5 separate regions of the Homo sapiens genome follow, and regions 1, 2, 3 and 4 are each linked to region 5. The links are contacts of gene promoters, found by promoter capture Hi-C in human tissues and cell types (Jung and others, 2019). All regions are on one chromosome and are shown on one strand. The core of a region is centred on a gene start or on the middle of the fragment in contact, and the rest is flanking DNA. Distances in the headings are between cores, read along the strand shown. Region 1 overlaps UBE2V2-AS1 (UBE2V2 antisense RNA 1). Region 2 overlaps UBE2V2 (ubiquitin conjugating enzyme E2 V2). Region 3 has its middle 220 kb from the start of UBE2V2. Region 4 has its middle 70 kb from the start of UBE2V2. Region 5 holds the start of SNAI2 (snail family transcriptional repressor 2).

Region 1 (5,094 bases), core at 2,276-4,775, 930 kb after region 5:
GTCTCACACACTCCTTACTAAAAAACTCCAATTCCTCCCTGGCAAGAGACTGCTGGCTCTGCGTATCCCTCTTCTCCACAACATACAATGCAATCCCTGCCTCAGCCTATAACTGGACTTCCACCCAAGTAACCTACCATCCCGAAATCCTCATTAACAGCCGCCTCGAACTCGACATGCCGGCATTAACAGAAATCTCCCCCAACTTAGCTAGCGAGTTCTGGCTCTTACAACCTTACATCCCTACTTACGCAACGTATCCCCCTACCACAGCCATGATAAACCCATATTAGGAGCCATAACAACCCACACAATCTTATCCTATGCAGCACCACTGGGCGTCCAATGACATCTACCCTCTGGCATTCCCCTCGGCAACCTGAATTCCAAACTGTGCAACTATACCCTACGACTCAAACCTTCCACTGAACATACTACTCTCAAAGCTGCCAACAATAAAGACAGGCTTCATTTCTCTAGCCCCCCCTGGCCCTTGACACCTCCCACCTCCTTAATAAAAATTCAGAGTACTGTAATGGCTGACACTTCCCCTGTTTATCCCTCTTCCCTTGGCTGCCCTCTCCATGCACCATCCCTGCACCCATCACCTGCGACTGTCTCCTTATCCCAACATTCAGCAACACTCCCACATGGATCTTAGTGGACACAAAATGCTTCCTTTTACACAAGGAAAAAGAACCCAAAAGCCTCCCGGACTAAACCAAACACCCCTTTACAACCACTTACACCAGCAGCCCTAGCCAGGACCCTAGGAGTATGGATGCATGAGAATAACAAAATAATACATCTTTTTAGCACACACAATCAGTTCTGTCTACCAAGCTAAGGTATACTTTTCCTATGTGGTACCTCAACTTATATTTGCCTCCCTTCTAACTGGACGGGCACCTGCACCCTGGTTTTCCTCAGTCCAAAAATCAATGTTGCCCAGGAGACCAACCCCTACCAATACCCCTATCCGACACTGCCGTGCTATACAATTCATACCTCTATTAGTAGCCCTTGGAATAACTACAGGAGTTGGAACTGGGATTATGGGATTAACCATCTCCATTTCCTATTACCAATCCCTCTCCAAAGACCTCACAGATAGCTTGGAAGAGATAGCCAAATACTCTCCAATCACAAATAGATTCTTTAGCGGTGGTGGTTCTTCAAAACCGCAGAGGCTTACACCTACTCACAGCCGAAAAAGAAGGACTATGCCTTTTTCTAGATGAACAGTGTTGCTTTTATCTTAACCAATCTGGCTTAGTATAAGATGCTGTAAAAATATAAAGGACCGAGCACAAAAAATTAAAGAAAACATCCTGCGATGGCCAGCGTGGCCCTCCCAGTCCTTTAGTAGCTGGTTTCCATGGCTAATGCCCGTCCTAGGCCCAGCCATAACCATTCATCTTTTTCTAGCATTCAGCCCTTGTCTCCTATGCCTTCTCACCCAGTTTTTACAGGACCCTATCAGCGCTTTCACCCACGGGACAATACAAAATATGATGCTGCTCCAGGAATACCAGAGGCTCCAAGAACAGCAGTCCCTACCGTCCAGCCTTCCCCGACAACTGTCGCCCTCTCCCAGTAAGAAGCAGCCAGATGATAACAGCACCCCTCTTCCATTACCTATTAAAAGTCTGGCATGAGAGGGACAACTGCCCCGAGAAAGCTTCTTTGTGCTGCCCACCCCTCCCCCAATGCTCTGCAATTCTTCTCCATGCCGCCCACCCTTCCCCAAGCCTCTTTACGTTTCTAAGCCCTTATGTAGTCGCTACGGTGAAGCCAACAGACTTCACTTATCAGACCTTGCTGCGATAAGCAAACCCCAATAACAAACCATCCAGACCGCACAGGGGGAGGTTGTGGGAAGCACAAACAAACTTTACTACACCCTCCTGTAATAAATGTCACAAGGTGATATGTGGCAAAATTAACCAGCAAACAACCCTGGGATGCAACCATACCAAAAAACTCCCTCAAACTTCCCTCCCCAATATAAACCCCTCATTCTGTAAGCTTGGTGCTGCTTCCCTTGACTATTAAGGGGGCAGCCGACAGGTTAATAAAAACTTGCTCACCTGACTTTGGGTCTATTTTTCCTTTCTCTCGGCTGATCTTACAGATATCTTTTTATCTCTCTCTACATTCACTTGGTGATCACACAATTAGGCTCATCACTTTAAGTGGCATCCATTTTTTTTTTTTTATTGTTTGTTTGGTTTGAGATGGAGTTTCGCTCGTCGCCCAAGCTGGAGTGCAGTGGCACGATCTCGGCTCACTGCAGCCTCTGCCTCCCAGGTTCAAGCGATTCTCCCGCCTCAGCCTCCCAAGTAGCTGGGATTACAGGCATGCACCACTATGCCCCGCTAATTTTTGTATTTTTAGTACAGATGGGTTTTCACCATGTTGGCCAGGCTGGTCTCGAACCCCAGAACTCAGGTGATCTGCCCGCTTCGGCCTCCCAAAGTGCAGGGATTACAGGCGTGAGCCACTGCGCCTGGGCAGCATCCGTATATTTCCACTCCCAATTTCTTATCTGAAGCCCGAAACCCTCCCATAAATTCTATGCTCTAATATCTAACTGCCTACTCAGGTTAGCATCTAAAAGGCTGTGTATTAGATGTCTCAAATTTAATTCAACTCCTATATTCTTCCCCAACAGAGTTCTACTGGAAGCCTTTTCTTTTTCTTTTTCTTTTTCTTTTTTTTTTTTTTTTTGAGACAGAGTCTTGCACCGTCGCCCCGGCTGAGTGCAGTGGTGCGATCTCAGCTCCCTGCAACCTCCGCCTCTCGGGTTCAAGCGATTCTCCTGCCTCAGCCTCCCAAGTAATTGGTATTACAGGTCCCGCCACCACACCCAGCTAATTTTTTGTATTTTTAGTAGAGATGGGGTTTCACTATGTTGGTCAGGCTGATCTCAAACTCCTGACCTCGTGATCCGCCTGCCTCAGCCTCCTAAAGTCCTGGAATTACAGGTGTGAGCCGCTGTGCCCGGCCAGAAACCTTTTCTTTCTTAGTAAACAACAAATCCATTCTTGCTGAGGCCAAAATCCTTGGAGTCATCTGATTTTAATTGCTTTCCCATATACCAGCAATCATCAAGTAGAATCTGAAATTTAAAACAAAATACTGAAACTGCCTTTGCAAAAATCATAACTGAGAAATATTACAATGAAAGAGATCCATCTTGCTTCTAACCCCCAGGCTGTCATTGTTCATTCCTGGGCCTAGGTTGAACTAACTTTGGGAGGAACTTAGTTTATAGTTTAGCTTTGAAACAAAGACAACAACCCTTTCCCAAAACAAGCCTTCCTGGAGACTAGACTGCCTTTGCAGGACTAACAAATTAGCCACAGGATTAGAAATTACAGTTTAGGAGCCATACTGCTGGAGGCTGCAAGATTCTAAACCTCTCCAAATTGCTCCTAGGGATAACATCACTATTGCAAAACCTAAGATCAGTGCTTGAGATATTTTGCAGACACTGCACTTGATTCATCAGCTGGCACCAATCAGATCGATAAACTGGCTCATCTGGTCTTGTGGCCCCCACCCAGGAACTGACTTAGCAGTGACAAGAGGACAGCTTTGACTCCCATCTCTGACCCGACCAATCAGAACTCCCAACTCACTGGCCCCCTACTCAGCAAATTTTTTTTTTTTTTTTTTGGAGACAGAGTTTTACTCTGTCGCCCACGGTGGAGTGCAGTGGCATGATGTCGGCTCACTACAACCTCTACCCCCCGGGTTCAAGCAATTCTCCTGCCTCAGCCTCCCGAGTAGCTGGGACTACAGGCGCACGCTGCCATGCCCAGCTAATTTTTTGTATTTTAGTAGAGACGTGGTTTCACGTGTTGCGCAGGCTGTTCTCAAACTCCTGAACTCAGGCAATCCGCCCGCCTCGGCCTCCCAAAGTGCTAGGATTACAGGCATGAGCCACCGCACCAGGCAGCAAATTATTCTTAAAAACTCCAATTCTCGAATTCTCGGGGAGACCGATTGGAGTAATAATAAAACTCTGGGCCAGACACGGTGGCTCACACCTGTAGTCCCAGCACTTTGGGAGGCTGAAGCAGGTGGATCACCTGAGGTCAGGAGTTCAAGAACCAGACTGGCCAACATGGTGAAGCCCCATCTCTACTAAAAATACAAAAATTAGCTGGTGTGGTGGCGTGTGCCTGTAATCCCAGCTACTCTGGAGGCTGAGGCAGGAGAATCGCTTGAACCCGGGAGGTGGAGGTTACAGTGAGCCAAGATCACGCCACTGCACTCCAGCCTGGGTGACAGAGGGAGACTCCGTCTCAAAAAAAAAAAAAAAAAAAAAAGTGGGACGTTTGAGAGGTGATGAGGTCATTAGGGTTCTGCTGTAATGAATGGATGATAGCCCTTATAAAATGGCTCAGGGGAACTAGCTAGCTCCCTTTCCACCTCTTACACCATGTGAGGACACATGTGTTCCTGCCCTCCAGAGGATGCAGCATTCCGGTAGCCATCTGGGAAGCAGAGACTGAGCCCTTACCAGACATCACACCTATTGGCACTTTGCTCTTGGACTTCCCAGCCTCCAGAACTGGGAGGAATAAATTCTGTTCTTTATAAACTACCCAGTCTCAGATATTTTATTATAGCAGCACAAATAATTAATAAAAAATTAATTAATTATTTTTTTTAAATGCCTCTCCATCCTAGGAAGCCTAGCCAAGGTCCTGCTATCCTATAGGTTTCAGTGACTTTCTCTCTTCTTGCGATCCCCAAAATGTCCTGAGGTTCCTGGGCCTGTGCGAAGTGACCGTCCCTTACACATCGCAAGGGAAACATGTGAGGGAATCTTGTGTACAAGATACAAAGCCAGCTTTTTCCTTCAAGGGGCCGTATTGGCTCCATGGAGTCAATCTTAGTTCCTAAAAGTTGTGTGATTATATCTGAAAATATGACATTTCAGTCAAAGCTTTGGTAACATGACTAATGTTTCCAATTGTGTCTTGGTACAAAGAGAGCAGATTCTTACTGAACTTATGCAAATAATTATATTGCCATGAAAATAAAAATACTAATAGTTTCTGAATTCTGCAGGGATAAAGT
Region 2 (5,286 bases), core at 578-3,077, 870 kb after region 5:
GAACAGTCATCCTTTTAATCCCACCAAATGTACCTTAACCCTCAGAAAAGTAACATTCAAAGAGAAATAATGATCATCTCTTTTTTTTTTTTTTTTTGAGACGGAGTTTCGCTCTTTCACCCAGGCTGGAGTGCAGTGGCACAATCTCTACAAGCGTGAGCCACCATGCCCCGCCCAATAATGGTCATCTTTTTACCAAATAAAGATCAACTGAAATATGACTATTAAGGCAATTAAAACCCTAAGAAAACTTTTGGCCAGGCACAGTGGCTCATACCTGTAATCCCAGCACTTTGGGAGGCCGAGCCGGGCGGATCAACTAAGGTCAGGAGTTCGAGACCAGCCTGGCCATTGTGAAACCCCGTCTCTACAAAAATACAAAAATTAACTGGGCATGATGGCAGGTGCCTGTAATCCCAGCTACTCGGGAGGTTGAGGCAGGAGAATCACTTGAAGCCGGGAGGCAGAGGTTGCAGTGAGCCAAGATCGCACAATTGTACTCCAGCCTGGGTGACAGAGTGAGACTCTGTTTCAAAAAAAAAAGAAAAGAAAAAAAAAGTTTTAACCACCACATGCATCTATTCTAGGCAAGTACATTAAGGTTTTTAAGGATGGCCTAATTTATATTAATAAAAGAAAAACAACATAATGCAACCTTCTTTAGACTTTTGGCTTAACAAAGGTCCTCTTTTAAAAACTTTCTCCTAACTACATATTAATATCTTACATATATTATGGTGTGTGTACGTATAATATATAACTCTATACATTATGTTATATAAAACCAAAATGACTATATTAACTTACCATCCCACTGGAATTATTTATTCCGTTCATATTAATTTTTGTTACAAATCTAACTGACGGAGGAGCTTCTGGGTATTTAGGTCCACATTCTACTTTCAGGCTATATATTCTGTTTTCATAATTTGTCTGGAAGGCAAAAAACAAAAAGATAATCAAAATAACAATACCTAAAATATTAATGTCTAAGTGCTAAAAAAAAAAAAGGGAAAGTACAATATGAATGTACGTAAGACAGTGTTTATGATTAAGAATTTATTTTTCTACATTCAAATTTATTTCACCTATATGGTGAGAAAAAATGCAATAAGCATACTTAAAAATTGAGATTTTACAAAATTAATTCCATGAGATTTTACAAAATTAATTCTACAAAGTATTATCAATATGATCCCAAGTTGCTTTTGTGATAAAAATGATGCCTGTAACAAATTAGAACGAAGAAGGAAAAACGAAAAAGCAAACCACTTAAATTTAGATTTTGCTAAAAAGTTTACATTGTAGAGGGAGGGGCTACTTGAGACTTGTGTTAAACATATATGAAGGTTTCTGTTTTACAGAACAGTTCTGCTTATTCCTATTGTCCCAGAATTGACTATTAACAGTGCCTCCTTTCATTCTCAAAAGGGTCTTGTTGGATAACAAATTATATGATTATCCTACTAAATATGGCAATCAATAACTTCTAGCAAAAGAGAAAACCCCATATTATACTATTTTGCAGCAATAAAACATAATTATTTTATGTCCCCTGTTAGTTATACTTACGTTGCCACTTCATTAATTTTGAGGTTCATTAAATCCCATTATCTGAATTCAGAGATACAATGGCAAACTTTATGTTTACACATCATTTTCAAATAGGTATCAAACTTAAAGCTTCTAGATTATCCAGGGCTTATTTTCATGCCTATAAATTAACTCTTCTTTCTGCTATGGCTTTTGTTCACTCTGTTAACTTATTAGTGTACCATTAAAACAGCAAAGTAAAAAATAAATGAATCCTCACCTTGACTCAAGAGATTAAAAAGAAAAAAAAATTGTTTTAAAGAGAATTATAATTATTGAAACTTTAAATTTTCTAAATTATAATTAAAATAACATAAAAATATATACATAAATAAATGAAAGTGAAAAATTTAATATCTGCTGGCTGCTGTATAAGACCAGAGAGGGAGGAAGCTAACCAACCATCTACAGATCTCACCTACTCAAACTGATCCCATCCCCATAAACAAGAGCTATCCAAATGGAGGTCAGATTTGCAGTATTAAACTACTCTAATGTAAAACCTATGCAACAATGTTATATGTATGTTATTAAATATTTCAATACTTTAAGAAAAAAAGAGCTATATAAAACTCATCTGAGATTAATAGCAAGCAAATATTAATAATATCCCCAGCACTTTCAATATATAAAAATGACTAAAATCAGATAGATCTCATGATTATCTTGGCTGTGATTCTCCAATCTGGATGCATATCAGACTCCCCTATGATACAGCAATTCTATTCCTAGGCATTTACCCAAGCGAAATGGAAACAAACACATGTTCACAAAAAGACTTCTACAAGAATGCCCATAGCAGCTTTATTTGTAAAAGCAAGAAAGTAGATTAAATCCAAATGTCCATAAAAAGAAGTGATAAACACATTGTGGTATATCCATACAGTAAAATACTATTCAACAATAAAAAGAAACACACTCCTACTACATGAGATAACACAACTGAATTGCTCAGACTTCATGCTGAGTAAAGAACCGTAAGTGTACACACTACATGACCCTACTTACCAAAGCTCTACAACACGCAAATCTCTCAGGTGTGGGAAAGCGCAAAGGGAGCTTTCTGGAATGACAGGAATGTTCTGTATCTCAGTAGGGGTAACAAGCTACATTTGTCAAACTCATGGCACATCTGTGCATTTCACTACATGTAAATTCTACCTCAATTCCTTTTGTTTAAAAAAAAAAAAAAAAAAACCCAAAGCTCTTTTCTGAAAGATTTTATGTAAACAAAAAAAAATTTAATCCCAAAGCTAGCCTATTAATCTAATCCAATTCTTACAGTAAATATCACCCTAACTTCTGACACCTTTGATTTTATCCCCTCTAAATTTTAAATTAACAGGCTGGGTGTGGTGGCTCATGCCTGTAATCCCAGCCCTTTGGGAGGCCAAAGGCGGGCAGACTGCCTGAGGTCAGGAGTTCGAGACCAGCCTGGCCAACATGGTGAAACCCCGTCTCTATTAAAAATACAAAAATTGGTAGCACACGCCTGTAATCCCAGCTAGTCGGGAGGCTGAGGCAGGAGAATCACCTGAACTCGGGAGGTGGCAACTGCAGTGAGCTGAGATCACGCCACTGCACTCCAGCCTGGGTGGCAAAGCAAGACTGTCTCAAAAAAAAAAAAAATTTTAATTAACAGTCAAGTTTTTCTGTTATCTAATAAAAAGCAAGAGCAAAAAAAAGAGGAGAAAAACAAACTAATATTTACTAAGTCAAGTACTCAGGTATTCTCCTATTATCTAATCATTATTTCACTTAATTCTCACACTGTTTCTATTTTAAAGATGGGGACAGTACCTTCATTAAATATGAGAAAACTTGAAAAAGTACTAAACTCTAGTGACAACAAATATTGCTTCAGAAAACTGAACACAAAAACATAGAAAAACAAAACTGCTAATCATATAAATCCAAATAAATACTAGAACAACATAAAAAATGAGGGATCTGGCTGGACATGGTGGCTCACACCTGTAATCCTAACACTTTGGGAGGCCGAAGGGAGTGGATCACCTGAGGTTGGGAGTTCGAGACCAGCTTGACCAACATGGAGAAACCCCATCTCTACTAAAAATACAAAATTAGCCGGGCATGGTGTCGCATGCCTGTAATCCCAGCTACTCAGGAGCCTGAGGCAGGAGAATCACTTGAACCTGGGAGGCAGAGGTTGCGGTGAGCCCGAGATAGTGTCACTGAACTCCAGCCTGGGCAACAAGAGCAAAGCTCCATCTCAAAAAAAAAAAAAAAGAGGGACCTTAGTCAATAAAGTACAAAAAATAAAAAACAACTGGCCAGGCACAGTGGTTCACGCCTATAATCCTAGCACTTTGGGAGGCCACGGCAGGTGGGCCATTTGAGCCCAGGAGTTTGAGACCCGTCTGGGCAACACAGTGAGACCCCCATCTCTACACACACACACACACAAATTAGCCAGGTATGGTGGTGTACCCCTATAGTCCCAGCTACTCAGAAGGCTAAGGTGGGAGGATTGTTTGAGCCCAGGGGGTCCAGGCTGTGAGGTGTGATCGGGCCACTACACTCCAGCCTGGTTGACAGAGTGAGACTATCTCAAAATAAAATAAAATAAAAATAAAAAACAACGAACCATGTAACATGTTAAAAGTCTTCCTCCTCTCAACCGGGCACGGCGGCTCACGCCTGTAATCCTAGCACTTTGCGAAGGCCGAGGTGGGCGGATCATCTGAGGTCGGGAGTCTGAGACCAGCCTGAGCAACATGGAGAAACCCTGTCCCCACTAAAAATACAAAATTAGGCCAGACGCGGTGGCTCACGCCTGTAATCCCAGCACTTTGGGAGGCCGAGGCGGGTGGATCACAAGGTCAGGAGATCGAGACCATCCCGGCTAACATGGTGAAACCCCATCTCTACTAAAAATACAAAAAATCAGCAGGGCGTGGTGACAGGCCCCTGTAGTCCCACTACTCGGGAGGCTAAGGCAGGAGAATGGTATGAACGCGGGAGGCAGAGCTTGCAGTGAGCCGAGATGGCGCCACTGCACTCCAGCCTGAGCGACTGAGCAAGACTCCGTCTCAAAAAAAAAAATAAAAATACAAAATTAGCTGGGAGTGGTGGCACATGCCTGTAATCCCAGCTACTAGGGAGGCTGAGGCAGGAAAACCGCTTGAACCTGGGAGGCGGAGGTTGCGGTGATCTGAGATTACACCATTGCACTTTAGCCTGGGCAACAAGAGCCAAACTCTGTCTCAAAAACAAACAAACAAAAAAGTCTTCCTCCTCTCCTGGCTAGATGTAGATACTCTACCCTGGGGACAAAATTGTTCTCAACATTGCACCTTCTAAGGAGAAAACAACTGTGGTAAGATACCAACTCCTGCCTGTTTTATGAAAAGGCAACTGAATATGCCTGCTGTGACCTGCCTTCAAGAGAACTGAGAAGGTGATGCAGAGAAGATCATCAGGTGGTGAGCAGAGGCCAGTTCCAGAAGAAGCCTGTGCCTTTGCAGGGCACACCCTCCTACCTCTGCCTGGCACTCAAAGGAAGTGAGGGGGTCTCTGATGAGGTTCAGGACATACTATCCCAAAATACGGCACCTTGGCACTTAAGAAAACAGCAGAAGCAAGGTTACTCTTACCTTACCTTCGCCCCCTTCTCCCCTGAAGCAGACCCTAAAATCTAGCTGACCTCCCCACGAAGTAGGTAGGTCATGA
Region 3 (5,049 bases), core at 2-2,501, 690 kb after region 5:
TTTCCTTCAGATGTGTCCGGAGTTTCTTCATTCTCATGGGTTCGTGGTCTTGCTGATTTCAAGAATGAAGCCACGGACCTTTGTGGTGAGTGTTACAGCTCTTAAAGGTGTTGCAAACCCAAAGAGTGAGCAGCAGCAAGATTTATTGTGAAGAGAAAAAGAACAAAGCTTCCACAGCATGGAAGGGGACCCAAGCAGGTTGCCGCCACTGGCTGGGGTGGCCAGCATTTTTTCCTTTATTTGTCCCCACCCACATCCTGCTGAGTGGTCCATTTTACAGAGTGCTGATTGGCCCATTTTACAGAGTGCTGATTGGTGTGTTTACAATCCTTTAGCTGGACACAGAGGGCTGATTGGTGTGTTTTTACAGAGTGCTGATTGGGGCATTTACAATCCTTTAGCTAGACAGAAATGTTCTCCAAGTCCCCACTCGACCTAGGAAGTCCAGCTGGCTTCAACTCTCAATACTACAGCAATGGAAACTCTCCGTCCAATATTTCAGTTAGAAGATGCTACCATGTATAGCTCTACTGCAAATAGTAGAATGAGTACAGCAATTCCTTTAAGGGTGATGTAGTAGATTATTTACATCTAAAATTTATCTGCCAACATACAGAATTTCCCTTTGTGGTTCTATGAAGTTCCTTGGCTTTATTTTCCCCAAGAAACCTCTAGGTTATGTGAATCCTACTCACTTTTATTACCTGGCAGAATTTGCAGGATAATTGCCCAGAAGTAGCATATTGATTCAGATTTTTACATTACCCATTCCTTTTTGTTTCTTTCAAGCTGCAGAAGATCACCACTTGATTCACAGGAATAAGCAGGGTTAGTCTAAAATGTAGGCCAAAATCTTAAAAACAATTAATAAGACTAGGATTTCATGACAAATGTATAATAAGCTTTGGAACATAATTTCTCTCTCCAGTCCTACCTTTTGGTTAAAACAAGTTATGATAGGACCATGTTATTTGTAGAATAAACTTTAGCCTTATAATTGGCCTGATTATTTGCATAAAGTGCAGCAAGAATGTTTATTTTAACATAGGCCTTGTTGATTGGCTTTGATGGAGCTCCTTTCCACAAGGAATCTCAAATAAGACCTTTTAAAGCTGAGCTCAGCCATGGGTTTGTATCCTCAAATACCTGTGAGTTGGGTGATCCTTTTCTCTTAAGGTCCCAAGATAAATTGGGAGCTCCTGGACCTGTTAGAAAGTGACATTCTTGGCCGGGCATTGTGGCTCACGCCTGTAATCCCAGCACTTTGGGAGGCCAAAGTGGGAGGACCACGAGGTCAAGAGATCAAGACCATCCTGCCCAACATGGTGAAACCCTGTCTCTACTAAATATACAAAAAAAATTAGCTGGGTGTCGTGGTGCACACCTGTAATCCCAGCCACTTGGGAGGCTGAGGCAGGAGAATTGCTTGAACCCAGGAGGTGGAGGTTGCAATGAGCTGAGATCATGCCACTGCACTCCAGCCTGGTGACAGAGCAAGACTCCGTCTCAAAAACAACAACAACAACAACAAAAGAAAGTGACATTCTTTACTGACCACAGGTTAGAAACCCTGTGCAGGGACTGTGTAGGCAAGGTATGAGGCCAGTTCTCTCTATAGGGCTTTTATTGGCTCTGCAAGTTGAGATTGACTCCTTAAAGGGAAGCATACACTTCCAGTCAAAGCCTTGATGAAATAACCAGTTTTTACAATTGTGTCCTCTTGGGGAAAAAAAATGGATTCCTATTACATTGCTGCAAACAACTATATTGCCATAAGTTAAGCATATTTACATATAGTTTCAAAATTCTAGAGGAACCAGGCAGAGAGAAACAAACATGCTCCAAATTTTGTTCACAGGAGTATGCCTTACTCAGTTATTAAAGGCCATAAATAGTTCAAAATAAGTTTTCTCAACTCAAAAATGAAACAAGGATCAGCAATATTTCAAGCAAAAGTCAAAAAGGTTGCTTTAACTTTCTGAGTGCAGTCCATTTAGTTAACTCTTGTTTTGCTTGACATACATGAACATTTCAGTTCTTCATGAGTCCCATACATTCTTTATCTATTTCAATGTTACAATCTTCAAAGCTATTAAAAACTCGCAGTTGAGAATACCTAGTAAAGTCCTTAATATAGCTTGATTATAACCCATCTTTTGAGAAGGAACCAAGCAAGACAACAATTATCTGTAAACAAAATTTCCAGGATAGATACAGTTAAAAACATGACAGACAAAGGAGTTCATTTATCTCTGCGGCTTACAATAACTTTACCCTTAATTATGATTGATAGCATATATTCAGACATTAGAATTTTACAAACCCCATACAATTTTAGAAAATATATCAGTATTATTCACCAAAATATAACCTAAAGAAGATTTTTAGCAATCATTTTAGCAATCCCATGTAACTAAACATGTCAAATAATCCTGTTCACCTCTTCTCTAGATGTTTCAGAGGCCCTCTGAGCCATCCAGAAAGCCAGGAATCAGGAAAAACAATTTTGAAACTTGGAGTTTGATTTTGGGATGATGAAATCGAATTCCAAACTGCCATAAATTATTCGTTTTGCCAAAATGATGACTCAAAAGGCAAAAACCTTTCATTAGCCTTTACTATTACATGAAAATCCTGTTCAAAGCCAAATTTTACCCTTGCATTAATTTCATTAATTTAGTAATGTTAACTTCAAACTGCTTAAAAGAAACCTTATAGACAATACCATCTAATCTTTTTTTTTTTTTTTTTTTTTTTGAGATGGAGTCTTGCTCTGTCACCCAGTCTGGAGTGCAGTGGTGCAATCTCAGCTCACTGCAACCTCTGCCTTTCAGGTTCAAGTGATTCTCCTGCCTCAGCCTCCCGAGTAGCTGGGATTATAGGCACCTGCCACTACAGCCAGCTGATTTTTGTATTTTTAGTAGAGATGGAATTTCACCATGTTGGCCAGGCTGGTCTCGAACTCCTGACCTCAAGTGATCCTCCCACCTTGGCCTCCCAAAGTGCTGGGATTACAGCCAAGCCACCACACCCGGCCTAGTAAGCAATTTTAATTATGTACCAGGTGTGGAGCCTAGGACCCAGACAGAGTGCAGATAAAGTTTGACTCTTTCCAGCATCTAGCTCCATGTGTTCCAGGCCTTACCTTTCCTGAAGCAGGCAGTATACAACCTTAGAACATGTAGCAAACCTAGTATCTAAGTTGTATAATTTAGACCACCTATTTGCATTTTGATGATACTTGCATTTTACCAATAATCCTTAAGACTATTCTTTATTTCTTAAAGATTAAAGTCACATGAAATAAAAAAGTATTTGATTTAAGTACTTATTTTTCTTTTTTTTTTTTTTCTTTTTTGAGACAGAGTCTCGCTCTGTCACCCAGGCTGGAGTGCAGTGGCGTGATCTCAGCTCATTGCAAGCTCCGTCTGCTGAGTTCATGCCATTCTCCTGCCTCAGCCTCCCGAGTGGCTGGGATTACAGGCACCCACCACCACGCCCAGCTAATTTTTTGTATTTTTAGTAGAGACAGGGTTTCACCGTGTTAGCCAGGATGATCTCGATCTCCTGACCTCGTGATCCACCTGCCTTGGCCTCCCAAAGTGCTGGGATTACAGGCGTGAGCCACTGCGCCCAGCCAAAGTGCTTATTTTTCTTTAAGCCAATCAATTAGAGCTCTTTTTATAGACATTACACACAACACATATATAGTGACACAAACAGACAGAAGGTTCAGCATTTGTAGGATTTTTCATTTGGCAGTTTCTTAACTGGATTACTGGCTTCAGGGTGGAGCCCTTGGAGAAACAGGGCCAGGCAGGCAGGCATTTCTAGGGTGTAATAAACAAGCACAGCTGAAGGCAAAGACAGATCCCCCAAATTAAGGGTGCCATTTTATACTGGATTTTGGATCCCCTAAAGGAGGGAGATACTATGGGAGAAGACAGTGCAGTGCTTCTACCATGCATTTCATTGCAAGGCAACTCAAAGCCAATCAGCTTATTTCATAATCAGCCCATCCCCCATGGGATTCTCATCTCTCAGTGGGGAGTGGGAATGTTTCCATATCTTTCAGGTGGCCAAGAGCATGCTTCTCTGATTTACAATTATTGTTAGCCATCTCTTAAAGTGTATTTCTTACCTAGTTATTACACAAAGCCCTCTCCTAAAGTGAACTAATTTGATACCCCCAAAACTCCAAACGGACAGATAACACAATGCAAAACAGAACAGAACCTTCGATTTTTTTTTTAAGTATTATTATTATACTTTAAGTTTTAGGGTACATGTGCACAATGTGCAGGTTAGTTACATATGTATACATGTGCCATGCTGGTGTGCTGCACCCATTAACTCGTCATTTAGCATTAGGTATATCTCCTAATGCTATCCCTCCCCCCTCCCCCGACCCTTTGATTTTGAGGGGGAACTATCCACTTTTAATTTCTGGGGTTTTATGAGGAAAACAGAGAGGTTTTTTTTTCCCAAAATGGAGTCTGTGGTGCCTCCTCTGTTTTTCCCAAGGAGTCCCATGCTACCAGAAGTTATCTTAGAGCCTTTCATGCATGCATTAAGAGTGGCAAGAAAAAAAATGGAGAAAAATAATTCGGTCAACTGAGAAGAAAAAAGCCTTTTTCCAGAAAAACAAAATCCAAGAAGAAAAACACAAAAAGGCATTTTAAATATACCTATAACTTGAATATCCACTTTTAATTAAACTGAGAAAACCCTTTTAAATCCCTTGTTACTCGACTGTAGCCACACCAAGCAGTTAAGATTTTTGGCTTTTGAAATTTATAAAAAGTAACCTACAGGTGAAACCAACAAGCCTTAATTAAGTTATGACTTAACTATGAGTGTACAAGAGACTTTCAAAGGGGTGATAAGCATTTTTGAAACTGTCATTGCAAAATTGTGACTGAGATAGTGAATGAGATCTGATCCAACCAACTCCATTTTGTTTCTAGCCCCCAGGCTGTCCTTGCACATCCCTGGGTGTAGGCCAAACCAACTTTGGGAGGAGCCTGGTTTACTGTGTAGTCTAAAACA
Region 4 (5,875 bases), core at 770-3,269, 840 kb after region 5:
TGCAGGATGCTTTAACATAGGGAAGAGTCTTCTAATTCTGTTTATTTCTTTGAAGATTGTTTTAGTTATTCTGGGTCCTTGGCATTTTCTGTATGAATTTTAGGATCAGCTTACCAATTTCTGCGAACTCGCCAACTAGGCTTTTGATGGGAAGTATGTGGAATTGACACAGGAATTATCTCAGTTACTTTGCCAGTCGGGACCTCTGGCCGGCGACACCCCCCCAACCCCGGACCTTGCTCAGCCCCGGGACTGCCACTGGTGGTGCCCCAGCCCACCTGTGTTACAGCTTGGTGGCTCCTGAGTTTTTGTCCTGTGTCCAAGAAGAATGAGGATACACTGACAGTTGAAGGGTAAGGATAGGCGGAGAATTTTATCGAGCAGTGGAATAGCTCTCAGTGGAGAGGCGATGCGGAAGGGTGGGTAAGGGGGTCCCCCACCTCCGCAGTCGGGTGGTTTTCTTCTCTCAGCGTGGCTGGGCCCTGGGCTTTTTATGAATTCAGAATGGGAAATGTTTGCTGATTGGTTTGTGAGTATGCGAAAAAGGTTAAAGCAAAGACACCACTCAAAGGTGGACATGACAGTGTAGAAAATCAATTAGGAAAGATTAGGTATACGTAAAATAGATGAAGGGTGGGGATCAATCAGAGGAGAAAGCATGACAAATGGGAAGACAGGTTCTCAATCCAGTCCGAAGATTTAACTTGTAGCTTGGCTTTCAAGCTTTAAACTGCCTTCAGCTTGGGGGTGGGGTTTCACCGGGGACTCGCCCCTATCTGCCTGGGCATTTGGCTGCCTCCTGTCACTATCAGAATGTGTAGAACACTTTGGGAATTATTACCATCCCAGCAATATGAAGTCTTTCCATCCACGAACGTTTTTTGTCTTTCCATTTATTTATGCCATCTATAATTTCAACAATATTTTGTAGTTTTCAAGGTATACGTTTTGTATTTTTTGGTCAGGCTTATTGCAAGTATTTTATTCTTTTTGATGCTATTGTAAATGGAATTGTTAAATTTCATTTTCAGACTGTTCATTGTTATTGTGTGGAAATTTAATTCATATTTGTATATTGATCTTGTATCCTGAAACCTTGCTGGACGCATTTCTTAGTTCTAATAGTTGTTTTAATGGTTTCCTTAAGATATTCTATATGTAGGATAATGTCTGCAGGGAATAGAGATTGTTTTTCTTCTTCCTTTCTAATCTAGATGCCTTTTATTGCCTAATTTCCCTGGCTAGAAACTCTGGTACAATCTTGAATAGAAGTAGCAAAAGTGGACATCTTTGTCTTTCTTATTCATGACGTGAAGGGGACATTCAGTATTTTGCCATTAAACATTGGTCTTTTGTAGGTTTTTTTTTGTGTGTGTGTAGCTGTTCTTTATCAGGTTAAGGAAGCTCCCCTCTGTTTACAGTTTTTTAAGCATTCGTATTATGAAGTGGGCTGTATTTTTTCAAATGCACTTTTCGTGTCGATTGAGATTGTCATGTGGTTTTTGTTTTTATTGATATTGATATTGATAATTGATATTTATGTTTCACATTTAGTTCTCCAAGAACTCTCCTTCAGGACTCATATTCCTAGTCATGATCTTTGCGTTTTTGCTCTGTTTTGAGATATTTCTTCTATTCGACATTCAAGTCCACACTATAGTTGAAATATGCCAAAATTTCCCTTTTTATCTCCTATTTCAAATGTTTAAATTTCAGAAACTGATTAAGTTTCTGCTTTTAGTACCACCAAGCGTCTTCCCCTTCCTCCCTTCCTTACTCCTCCCCCTTTCCTTCTTTTACTTTCTTCCCTCCTTCCCTTTCTTACTTCTTGTATGTTTCCTATGTTTCCATGTCAAATCCTTCAGAGTTCTCAGTACGATTTCACTGTTGTTATGTACCAGAGTCTCTCTCCCATGGTTCCCCGTCAATTGTAAACATCTACTGGTTTCTTTCAAGTCATTCAGTATCCTTTCATTAGTTACACCTTTTTTGCCTTATATAGCTACTCCTGGATTTTCGATGGTGTTATGTGCTGATCAACCCATCATAACTCAAAAATGCATTTAATATCCCAATGAACCAATTGTAAAGTTAGGGGAAAAAGATAATGGAAGAGCGATTAGACAAAAAAAGAAATCAAAAGTATTTAGATTGGAAAAGGAGAAAAACTATTTGCAAATAATAGGATCTTAGATATAGAAAAGCCTAAATAGTTTATGCAGAAAAGCTATTAGAGTTAATAAACTACTTCAGCAAAATTGCAGGATACAAGACCAATATACAAAAACCAGTTGTAGCAATAATCCAAAATTCAAATTAGGAGAACAGTTCCAGGTATGATAGCATCAAAAAGAGTAACATATGTAGGGATAAACTAAAATGGAAGTGCAAACTTATATGCTGAAAACCACAAAATATTGTTAAAAGAAACTAAAGAAGATATAAGTAAATGAAAAGTCATCTCATGTTCATGTGTTGGAAGATGTAATATTAAGATGGCAATACTCCCCAAAGCAATCTACAGCTTCATTGCAATCTCTACCAAAACTTCAACAGCCCTTTTTTTTTTTTTTGGCATAAATGGACAAGCTGATCCTAAAATTTATACAAAAATGCAAGGAACCCAGAATAGCCAAAACAGTCTTGAAAAATAAAACTGGGCCTGAACAGAACAAAAAGTGGAGGATGGGAGAACTTGTCCCTTCTACCTGATGTTTCAGCTGGGACATCAGTCTTCACCTGCCCTTGGACTAAGACTTACGTCGTCAGCTCTCCCAGTTCTCAGGTCTTTGAACTCAGACTTTCCTGCATCTCCAGCTTACAGACAGCACATGGTGATACTTCTCTACCTCCATAATCACGTGAGCCAGGTCCTCATAATAAATCTCTATCTATCAATTCATCTGTTGGTTCTGTTTCTCTGGAGAACCCTCTACAGTGACCTTGGACTAGGCAACAGTTTCTTAGATAAGATCCCAAAAATACAAGTCACCAAAAAAAAAAAAATAGAAAAATTGGGCTGCATCAGAATTAAAAACATTTTTTTGCATCAAAGGATAATATTAAGAAAGTAAAGAGACAATCCAAAGAATGGGAAAAATATTCACAAGCTATATATTTGATAAGATCCAGATAAGCTATATATTTGATAAGTATCCAGAATACATATAGAAAAACTCTTACAAGTCAACAAAAAATGGGCCAGGCATGGTGGCTCATGCCTGTAATCCCAGCACTTTGGGAGGCCATGGCGGGTGGATCACCTGAGGTCAGGAGTTTGAGACCAGACTGGACAATACAGCAAAACCCCGTCTCTACTAAAAATACAAAAATTAGCCAGGCGTGGTGGCACATGCCCGTAGCCCCAGCTACTCAGGAGGCTGAGGCAGGAGAATTGCTTGAACCCAGAAGCAGAGTTTGCAGGGAGCCGAGATCGTGCCACTGAACTCCAGCCTGGGCAATAGAGCAAGACTCCATCTCAAAAAAAAAAAAAAAAAAAGACAACCTAAATTTCAAAATGAACAAAACAGCTGGGCACAGTGGCTCACACCTGTAATCCCAGCACTTTGGGAGCCTGAGGCAAGTGGATCATTTGAGGTCAGGAGTTTGAGACCAGCCTGGCCAACATGGTGAAACCCTATCTCTACAAAAATTAGCCGGGTGTGGTAGCACGTGCCTGTAATCCCAGCTACTTGGGAGGCTGAGGCAGGAGAATCACTTGAACCCGGGAGGCGGAGGTTGCAGTGAGCCAACCGAGATCATACCACTGCACTCCAGTCTGGATGACAGAGCGAGACTCCATCTAAAAAAAAAAAAAAAAGGCCAGGCGCACGGTGGCTCACACCTATAATCCCAGCACTTTGGGAGGCCGAAGCGGGCAGATCACCTGAGGTCAGGAGTTCAAGACCAGCCTGACCAACATGGAGAAACCCCATCTCTACTAAAAAGACAAAATTAGCCAGGCATGGTGGCACATGCCTGTAATCCCAGCTACTTGGAGGCTAAGGCAGGAGAATCACTTGAACCCAGGAGGCGGAGGTTGCGGTGAGCCGACATCGTGCCATTGCACTCCAGCCTGGGTGACAAGACAGAAACTCCATCTCAAAAAATAAAATAAAAAGGCCAGGCATGGTGGCTCATGCCTGTGATCCCAGCACTTTGGGAGGCTGAGGCGGGTGGATCACTTGAGGTCAGGAGTTTGAGACCAGCCTGGCTAACATGGTGAAACCCTGTCTCTATTAAAATACAAAAATTGTCTAGGTGTGGTGGTGCACGCCTGTAACCCCAGCTACTCGGGAGGCTGAGGCAGGAGAATCACTTGAACCCGGGAGGCAGAGTTTGCAGTAAATCGAGATTGCACCACTGAGTGACAGAGCCTGAGTGACAGAGCGAGAGACTCCATCTTAAAAAATAAAAAATAAAATAAAAATTTAAAAAATCAAATGAGCAAAAGAGTTGGACAGGATTTCTCCAAAGATACACAAATAACCAGTAAGCACATGAAAAGATGTTCAGCAGCACTAGTAATTTAAAAAAAACTGTGAAACCCCGTCTCTACTAAAAATACAAAAAAAAAAATAGCTGGACATGGTGACAGGCACATGTAGTCCCAGCTACTCAGGAGGCTGAGGCAGGAGAATGGCACAAACCCAGGAGGTGGAGCTGGCAGTGAGCTGAGATCGTGCCACTGCACTCCACCCTGGGCAACAGAGCGAGACTCCATCTCAAAAAAAAAAAAAAAAAAAAAAAACACACACACAATGAAATACCACTTCACACCCACCAGGAAGGCTAGAATTTAAAAGATGAGCAATAACAAGTGTTGGTGAGGACAGGGAGAAATTGAAACTCTCATCCACTGCTGGTGAGGATGTGAAATGGTACAGCCACTTTGGAAAACATGCTAACAGTTCCTCAAATGGTGAAGCATAGCTTCTGTATGACTCAGCAATTCCACCCCTACCCAACAGAAATGAAAACGTCCACACAAAAACTTGTACACAAACGTGTATAGCAATATTATTTATAATAGCCAAAAGGTGCAAACAGCCCAAATGTTCATTATTCTGGAATGTTCTGGAATTAGTGGTAATGGTTACACAATCTTGTGGCTATAACAAAAAACACTGAATTGTACACTTTAAAATGGTGCATTTTATGGTATGTAGTTTATATTTCAGATAAAAAATAAATAGAAATGAAAAGCCCATGGAAATAGAGGCATGCCAGAACCTCACCTCCCAGCCATTCCTGTCCTCCGAGCTCAGCACCACCAAGGTTAGAACTGAGTGGGCCTCATAGAATGGCAGGGCCACATTCCAGCACTGGTCAACATGATTTCAAGTCTAGTGACCACCCTGGGCACACGAGTCATTCATGCTTAGAAGAGTAGGTCTGATGTGGATGTTGGTCACCCCCCTCTAATAAAGAGCCCACTGGGGCTGGGTGCAGTGGCTCACACCTGTAATCCCAACACTTTGGGAGGCCGAGGCAGGCAGATCACGTGAGGTTGGGAGTTCAAGACCAGCCTGACCAACATGGAGAAACCCTGTCTCTACTAAAACTACAAAATTAGCCAGGCGTGGTGATGCATGCCTATAAGCCCAGCTACTCAGGAGGCTGAGGCAGGAGAATTGCTTGAACCCGGGAGGCGGAGGTTGCAGTGAGCCAAAATCGCACCATTGCACTCCAGCCTGGGCAACAAGAGCCAAACTCTGTCTCAGAAAAAAATAAAAATAAAAATAAAAAAAGCCCACTGGGCAGCGTTTCATATGAAGTTAACTTAAAGGTGGACTGGCTTCCCCTATATGCTCTACCTCCACATGTCCAGGGTGCATCTGACACATCCAAAGAGGACCTGTCTAGCCCCTACATG
Region 5 (5,366 bases), core at 2,118-4,617:
GAATATGCATATGAATTGAGGAGATATGAACCCCCTCCAGAGTGATCATACCACACACCAAACTTAGAAAGAGATGCCTTTCATTTTAGGAGATAGGACACAGCATAAAATGGGATTTTTCAGCCTATGCCACACTCTGGTTTCTTCTGGTGCTAGATTTACTACTCCATTTCCTAAACATGGTAGTCAATACTTGCACTGCTTTTTACACACCTAAATACCTAAATGTGTACAAATCTCCACGCAAAGTAAAGAAACCCAAGGTGCGTTCCCAAACCTCACGGATCTAATTTATTCCCCTACTTGGCAGGGCAAGAATGTGTCTTTCATGAAGAAAACTGGCTCCGGGAGAAACCCCACCCATCCAGGGAGCCTGTGGGGAAGGCTGGCCCAGATCTTTAACTTACAAAGTTTTCCACAAGTTATCTTGGTCAGCTTCTTCAGAAAACAGAGAAAATGAGAGCCTGTCAGGTACGTCACATCAAATCACATCATGGCAATTAAGGAATTAGATTATACGGGTGTCTGGGGTGCCAGGCAACCCGCACAACCCATGCCATGGAGTCTCGCCAGTGTGGCTCAAGCCTAGGAAGGATTATTTTTTAAGCCTCACTATGGCCTCCAGAGTTCCTTTTTTCTCCCTACACTACATTAAACTCTCAAGAGCCTAAGAGCAGAGCTTGTGCCTTCCTTTTGTCTTACCCGTGCCCACTGGCTTCACCCTGGCTGGGCTGTGTCCACGTGGCTCTAAGAACAAGCACCATTTATTTAATTGTTATGAAATAAATTAGGCTGATAAACCCAATCAGCCTAATTATGGAGCACCAATTTCTCACCAACCTAGGACTGAATCCTTGGATTAGCAAACCCACTTGGGTTTGCTTGTTCCATTTTTCCCCCTCAGTCATTGATTTGACTTCTATTGGATTCCAGAATGAAAGCTTTAAAATCTGGTGCAGTTGCCTCCACAAAGATTTCTGTCCCTGGGCAAGAGAAAGTCTTTTTGTCAACGACCAAAGCCAACCCCTCCAGATGAGCCCTCTGGCTGGCAGAAGGAAAGGAAACCTCTGTCTTGTCTTAGCAGAGTCCCAGCAGCTGGCCTTTGGGTGTGGCCTTGACTTCCCGGCTTGCGTTTTTACCACATGGTGCTGGCGCCACATGCCCTCCGCTGTGTCTGAGCAGAGCACCTGTTTCGTCTGACTCACGCCATCAGCGCGCAGACTCGCCCTGCTCTGACAGCGGCCCAGACCTCACACGGGCATACGTGTTACTCGCTAGCACGCGGATCTGTGTAATGACATGCCCCATGCACAGACCCGAGCCCCATCCTCTCCTCACAGTAGGTGTGGCCGCACGTCCTGACGCCGATCTGTGCAGTGCACCCTCGGATACCTGCTGATGGGGCTGGGCTGGATTATGCCTCTGTGATCCAAATGTAAGCTTTTTTCATGCATAGTGAATTATTATTAAACGTTGTAAATGGATTTTTGAATACACATTTTAGTAGATGATCTTGTGTTATAACTACCAGCAAATAAATACCAAAACATTGTCTAACACTCTTCTTTGTTGTGAATAGACTGTGTAGAGTGAAACAAGGAAATAATAGCCATGGCGATATGTGTTTTCTCAACTGTGCTATATCTGTAACAAAAATGTGTGTTTTGTGGGAAATGGAGTGAAAAGCAAGGAGGACTCCTGCTCTCATAAACCCAGGTGCCTACATCCGAACAAACCCTCACATAGAGTAGCAAGCTTAGAAAACTGCCTCTGGCTTTTACTCCAGGTTCCAGTTTGTGTGTGGAGAAATCGAATATGTATTCATATTTTCCTCTCTCCTGCAAGTACAGTTCCATTAGCATAAGGATTCCTTTGAATTATTTTCTCTGTTTGACATTTAAATTAGTGACTGTTGGAAGAAATAAGAATAATCATTGAAATTAGCTTAGGAAATCTGTGAGTGCCCCACCTCACCCTCCAAACACACATACACTCTTGTTTTCTCATTCCAAGATTAAGAAGTTATGCAACCTGACAATGCACTTTTCTCTGACAAGTCTTGACATCACCACTGTTATTTTCTTTTTCACTTTTTTCCTCCAGCACCTGTTAGAAACAAGAGTAGGGTGATCTTCATGTGAATTTGTTCTTTCCTTATTCTTTTAGCAAAAGATAGGGATAAAAGTCTGCAATGGACAGAGATGCTTTAAAATATGCTTGAAATTTTATATTTAAAATAAACCACCTGAAAGTATTTTTAGATTGAAGACCATACACAAAATAAAGGTGTTTTTGCAGTTACTAGACTGGGTTCTTAAAACTTTAATCAATCTATATTCATAATAATATCCTTCAATTTCTTTTTTAGCATTATACAGGAAACTGGTAGATACTGAGATGGATTTTAATGGCTTTATACTGATGAAAATAGCACCACATAAAAGCAGGGGAATATTAGAAATAAAAATAATTGTCTCTAAAGACCCATACAACCCTTTTTCCCATAAAAAAAAAGATGCACTGTAATACATGAAAAGATAAGATCTCTTGTCAAAAGTGTGAGAGAATGTCCGGTGGTTCCAAATGACAGTTACCTCTTGCCCCCCTTCTCTGCCAGAGTTCCTTTTTATCTTTGCAATCTTCCAGTTCTTCCGATCAGCCTGCCTTTAGAGGGCTACAAAGCATTTCTTTCAAGCCACCATAGCTAACACGGTGACATGAGTACTTAATTTGCACGCGGCCGCGCTGCCCCTGGCTTCGCGGAAGCCCTGAGTAGCGCAGCGCCCTCGCCGCACGCAAGGCTGCAGTCCCGCTCCAGGCCAGAGTCCCAGGAGAGCGTCCTCCGCGCTCACAGGCGCCTTTGTCTTCCCGCTTCCCCCTTCCTTTTTCAAAAGCCAAGAGGTAATTATTTGGTCTTTGTGCAAGGCAAACCTCTCCAGATGCCACTTCCAAATATAGGCTCTCATTAACACCAGAGGCTGGCCTGGTGTGGTGCAGGGCGGCCCTTCCTTCTCCTGGCGGACACTGTGTCCCCGCGCGCTGGCGCTGCACCACATCTGGAAGCCAGGCGGGCAGGGCAGAGACCCCGGCTCCTGCGCCCCTCCTAGCTCCCAGAGAGCGTGGATCGCGGGCGGGGCTCACCGAGCGAGGTTACCTCTCTTGAAAATACTTAAACACTTTTTTTCCTCTCCACTGAAATCTCAAAAAACAGCCCATTTTGAACCAGAATAATTTAGTCTGACAACAGATTCTTCCTCTGTTCACAGCTGTCCCAGAGGGAGGAGCTGAAATCTGAACCTCTCAGCTGTGATTGGATCTTTCTTGCAAAAGAGAGGAAAAAAAAACCCTCCCAGCCAAAACGGGCTCAGTTCGTAAAGGAGCCGGGTGACTTCAGAGGCGCCGGCCCGTCCGTCTGCCGCACCTGAGCACGGCCCCTGCCCGAGCCTGGCCCGCCGCGATGCTGTAGGGACCGCCGTGTCCTCCCGCCGGACCGTTATCCGCGCCGGGCGCCCGCCAGACCCGCTGGCAAGATGCCGCGCTCCTTCCTGGTCAAGAAGCATTTCAACGCCTCCAAAAAGCCAAACTACAGCGAACTGGACACACATACAGGTAAAAAGAGAAAAATATATCTAGAACTACGTATCTAGAGCTTTGCAAATATGAATCTACGTATTACCCTTCAAATACCATTACAAAAGAGCCAAAGATTCAACTGTTTTCCTTTTTAACAGTGTCCTGAAAGGGAGCTTACATTCTTTTGATCATTTAGGGTTCGTTTTAATTCAAAACTTTTAAAATTCTTGACTAACAAGGAACATTTCATTCAAATCTCGCAGCTTCGTTTGCTAAAGCCTGTGTATACATGCATAATGAGTATGTGAAAGATGAGCAACATAAGGATTGAATTACTGCGTTTTTCATGCACTAAGTCTCCTTTCCTTTAGAAGGCGGCTTGATGCAGGCATATCTTTGTACTCACGGTCGTAATACACCTAAATAGCCCATACGTAACATGGAAAACAACTTTTCTGTATGTTTAAAAATAATGTTGAGGCTCTCCTTCCTCAATGGGGACGGCGAAGGCACTGGCTTGGCTGCACTGTCTGACTTCAGAGCACCTATAGCTCCGTGCAGCTGTCAGCCTATGTGTGCATTAAGTACAGTAACTCCGTAGGTGCCAGGGTGGAAATGAAACATTTTACCAGTGTGTATGCCCTCCTAAATGGGTCTATCTTCTTCCTAAGAAAATCACGTGTGTGTTGCTAAATATCTTTCCAGTGTGTGTATACTTGCGTGTGGATTTATTTTTAATTATTTTTGCCTTAATCTTCTCTCCCTCCCTTTTCTTTCCCAGTGATTATTTCCCCGTATCTCTATGAGAGTTACTCCATGCCTGTCATACCACAACCAGAGATCCTCAGCTCAGGAGCATACAGCCCCATCACTGTGTGGACTACCGCTGCTCCATTCCACGCCCAGCTACCCAATGGCCTCTCTCCTCTTTCCGGATACTCCTCATCTTTGGGGCGAGTGAGTCCCCCTCCTCCATCTGACACCTCCTCCAAGGACCACAGTGGCTCAGAAAGCCCCATTAGTGATGAAGAGGAAAGACTACAGTCCAAGCTTTCAGACCCCCATGCCATTGAAGCTGAAAAGTTTCAGTGCAATTTATGCAATAAGACCTATTCAACTTTTTCTGGGCTGGCCAAACATAAGCAGCTGCACTGCGATGCCCAGTCTAGAAAATCTTTCAGCTGTAAATACTGTGACAAGGAATATGTGAGCCTGGGCGCCCTGAAGATGCATATTCGGACCCACACATTACCTTGTGTTTGCAAGATCTGCGGCAAGGCGTTTTCCAGACCCTGGTTGCTTCAAGGACACATTAGAACTCACACGGGTAAGAGAAAAACCATAGGCAGGAATGTTACTCTGAGATACAATGAAGCCCTGGGCTGGCTGTTGGATTTGCATGAAGTTGTGACATAGTGCTTTTAATGATGGACAGTCATTGATAGCTACTTCCTGACTACTCAAAAAGTTGTTAGGGCACAAAGTGCTCCATTTCTTGCTAACAACCTCTGCTCCAGGGACTGCAAACAGCATGTAGACTTTGGAAAGTAGATTCAGAAGGTTTGGTCTCAAAGATCAGTTAGAAAATCAGGAAAGATGTGCTTGAATGTGTGTTCTGTGAAACTGCCCCCAGTAATCAGCAAATACAAATGTTGCTATCTTAATCAATTGATTTGGTTAATAGATGAAGGCTTTTCCTACAGTTTTCTGTTAGTTACATTCTTGCTCTGATATTTGTCACCCGTGGGTGACTTGGATAGTTGAAACTAAATTTACTTTGCCTCTCTTGCTTT

The links. Contacts are between HindIII fragments. The study calls those that stand out against the background at their distance.
Region 1: a contact is called between a fragment that was not itself captured here and the fragment with the promoter of SNAI2 in region 5, in 1 of the 25 tissues and cell types used here (mesenchymal stem cells).
Region 2: a contact is called between a fragment that was not itself captured here and the fragment with the promoter of SNAI2 in region 5, in 1 of the 25 tissues and cell types used here (mesenchymal stem cells).
Region 3: a fragment that was not itself captured here is called in contact with the fragment with the promoter of SNAI2 in region 5 in 2 of the 25 tissues and cell types used here (dorsolateral prefrontal cortex and mesenchymal stem cells).
Region 4: a contact is called between a fragment that was not itself captured here and the fragment with the promoter of SNAI2 in region 5, in 1 of the 25 tissues and cell types used here (bladder).

What each region holds. Positions count from the first base shown.
Region 1 is chr8:47,986,028-47,991,121 of GRCh38, reverse strand. It overlaps UBE2V2-AS1 (UBE2V2 antisense RNA 1), which reads left to right. Exons shown (of 4, transcript XR_928850.3): 4 at 1,464-2,094. Among named protein-coding and RNA genes, the nearest start is that of UBE2V2-AS1, 10 kb to the left of the region's middle. The HindIII fragment of the contact is 3,339 bases long and covers 1,856-5,094 here.
Region 2 is chr8:48,045,500-48,050,785 of GRCh38, reverse strand. UBE2V2 (ubiquitin conjugating enzyme E2 V2) reads right to left here. Exons shown (of 4, transcript NM_003350.3): 3 at 808-933. Among named protein-coding and RNA genes, the nearest start is that of UBE2V2, 40 kb to the right of the region's middle. RefSeq lists a silencer at 2,490-2,690. The HindIII fragment of the contact is 3,610 bases long and covers 23-3,632 here.
Region 3 is chr8:48,228,241-48,233,289 of GRCh38, reverse strand. No RefSeq gene overlaps it. Among named protein-coding and RNA genes, the nearest start is that of UBE2V2, 220 kb to the right of the region's middle. The HindIII fragment of the contact is 4,066 bases long and covers 1-3,284 here.
Region 4 is chr8:48,075,607-48,081,481 of GRCh38, reverse strand. No RefSeq gene overlaps it. Among named protein-coding and RNA genes, the nearest start is that of UBE2V2, 70 kb to the right of the region's middle. The HindIII fragment of the contact is 9,830 bases long and covers 1-5,875 here.
Region 5 is chr8:48,919,430-48,924,795 of GRCh38, reverse strand. It overlaps SNAI2 (snail family transcriptional repressor 2), which reads left to right and starts at 3,367. Exons shown (of 3, transcript NM_003068.5): 1 at 3,367-3,609; 2 at 4,355-4,900. The coding sequence starts at 3,531. LOC107986942 (a long non-coding RNA gene) reads right to left here and starts at 3,239. Exons shown (of 4, transcript XR_001745895.3): 1 at 2,595-3,239; 2 at 2,032-2,106. RefSeq lists an enhancer at 3,177-3,256. The HindIII fragment of the contact is 3,481 bases long and covers 1,599-5,079 here.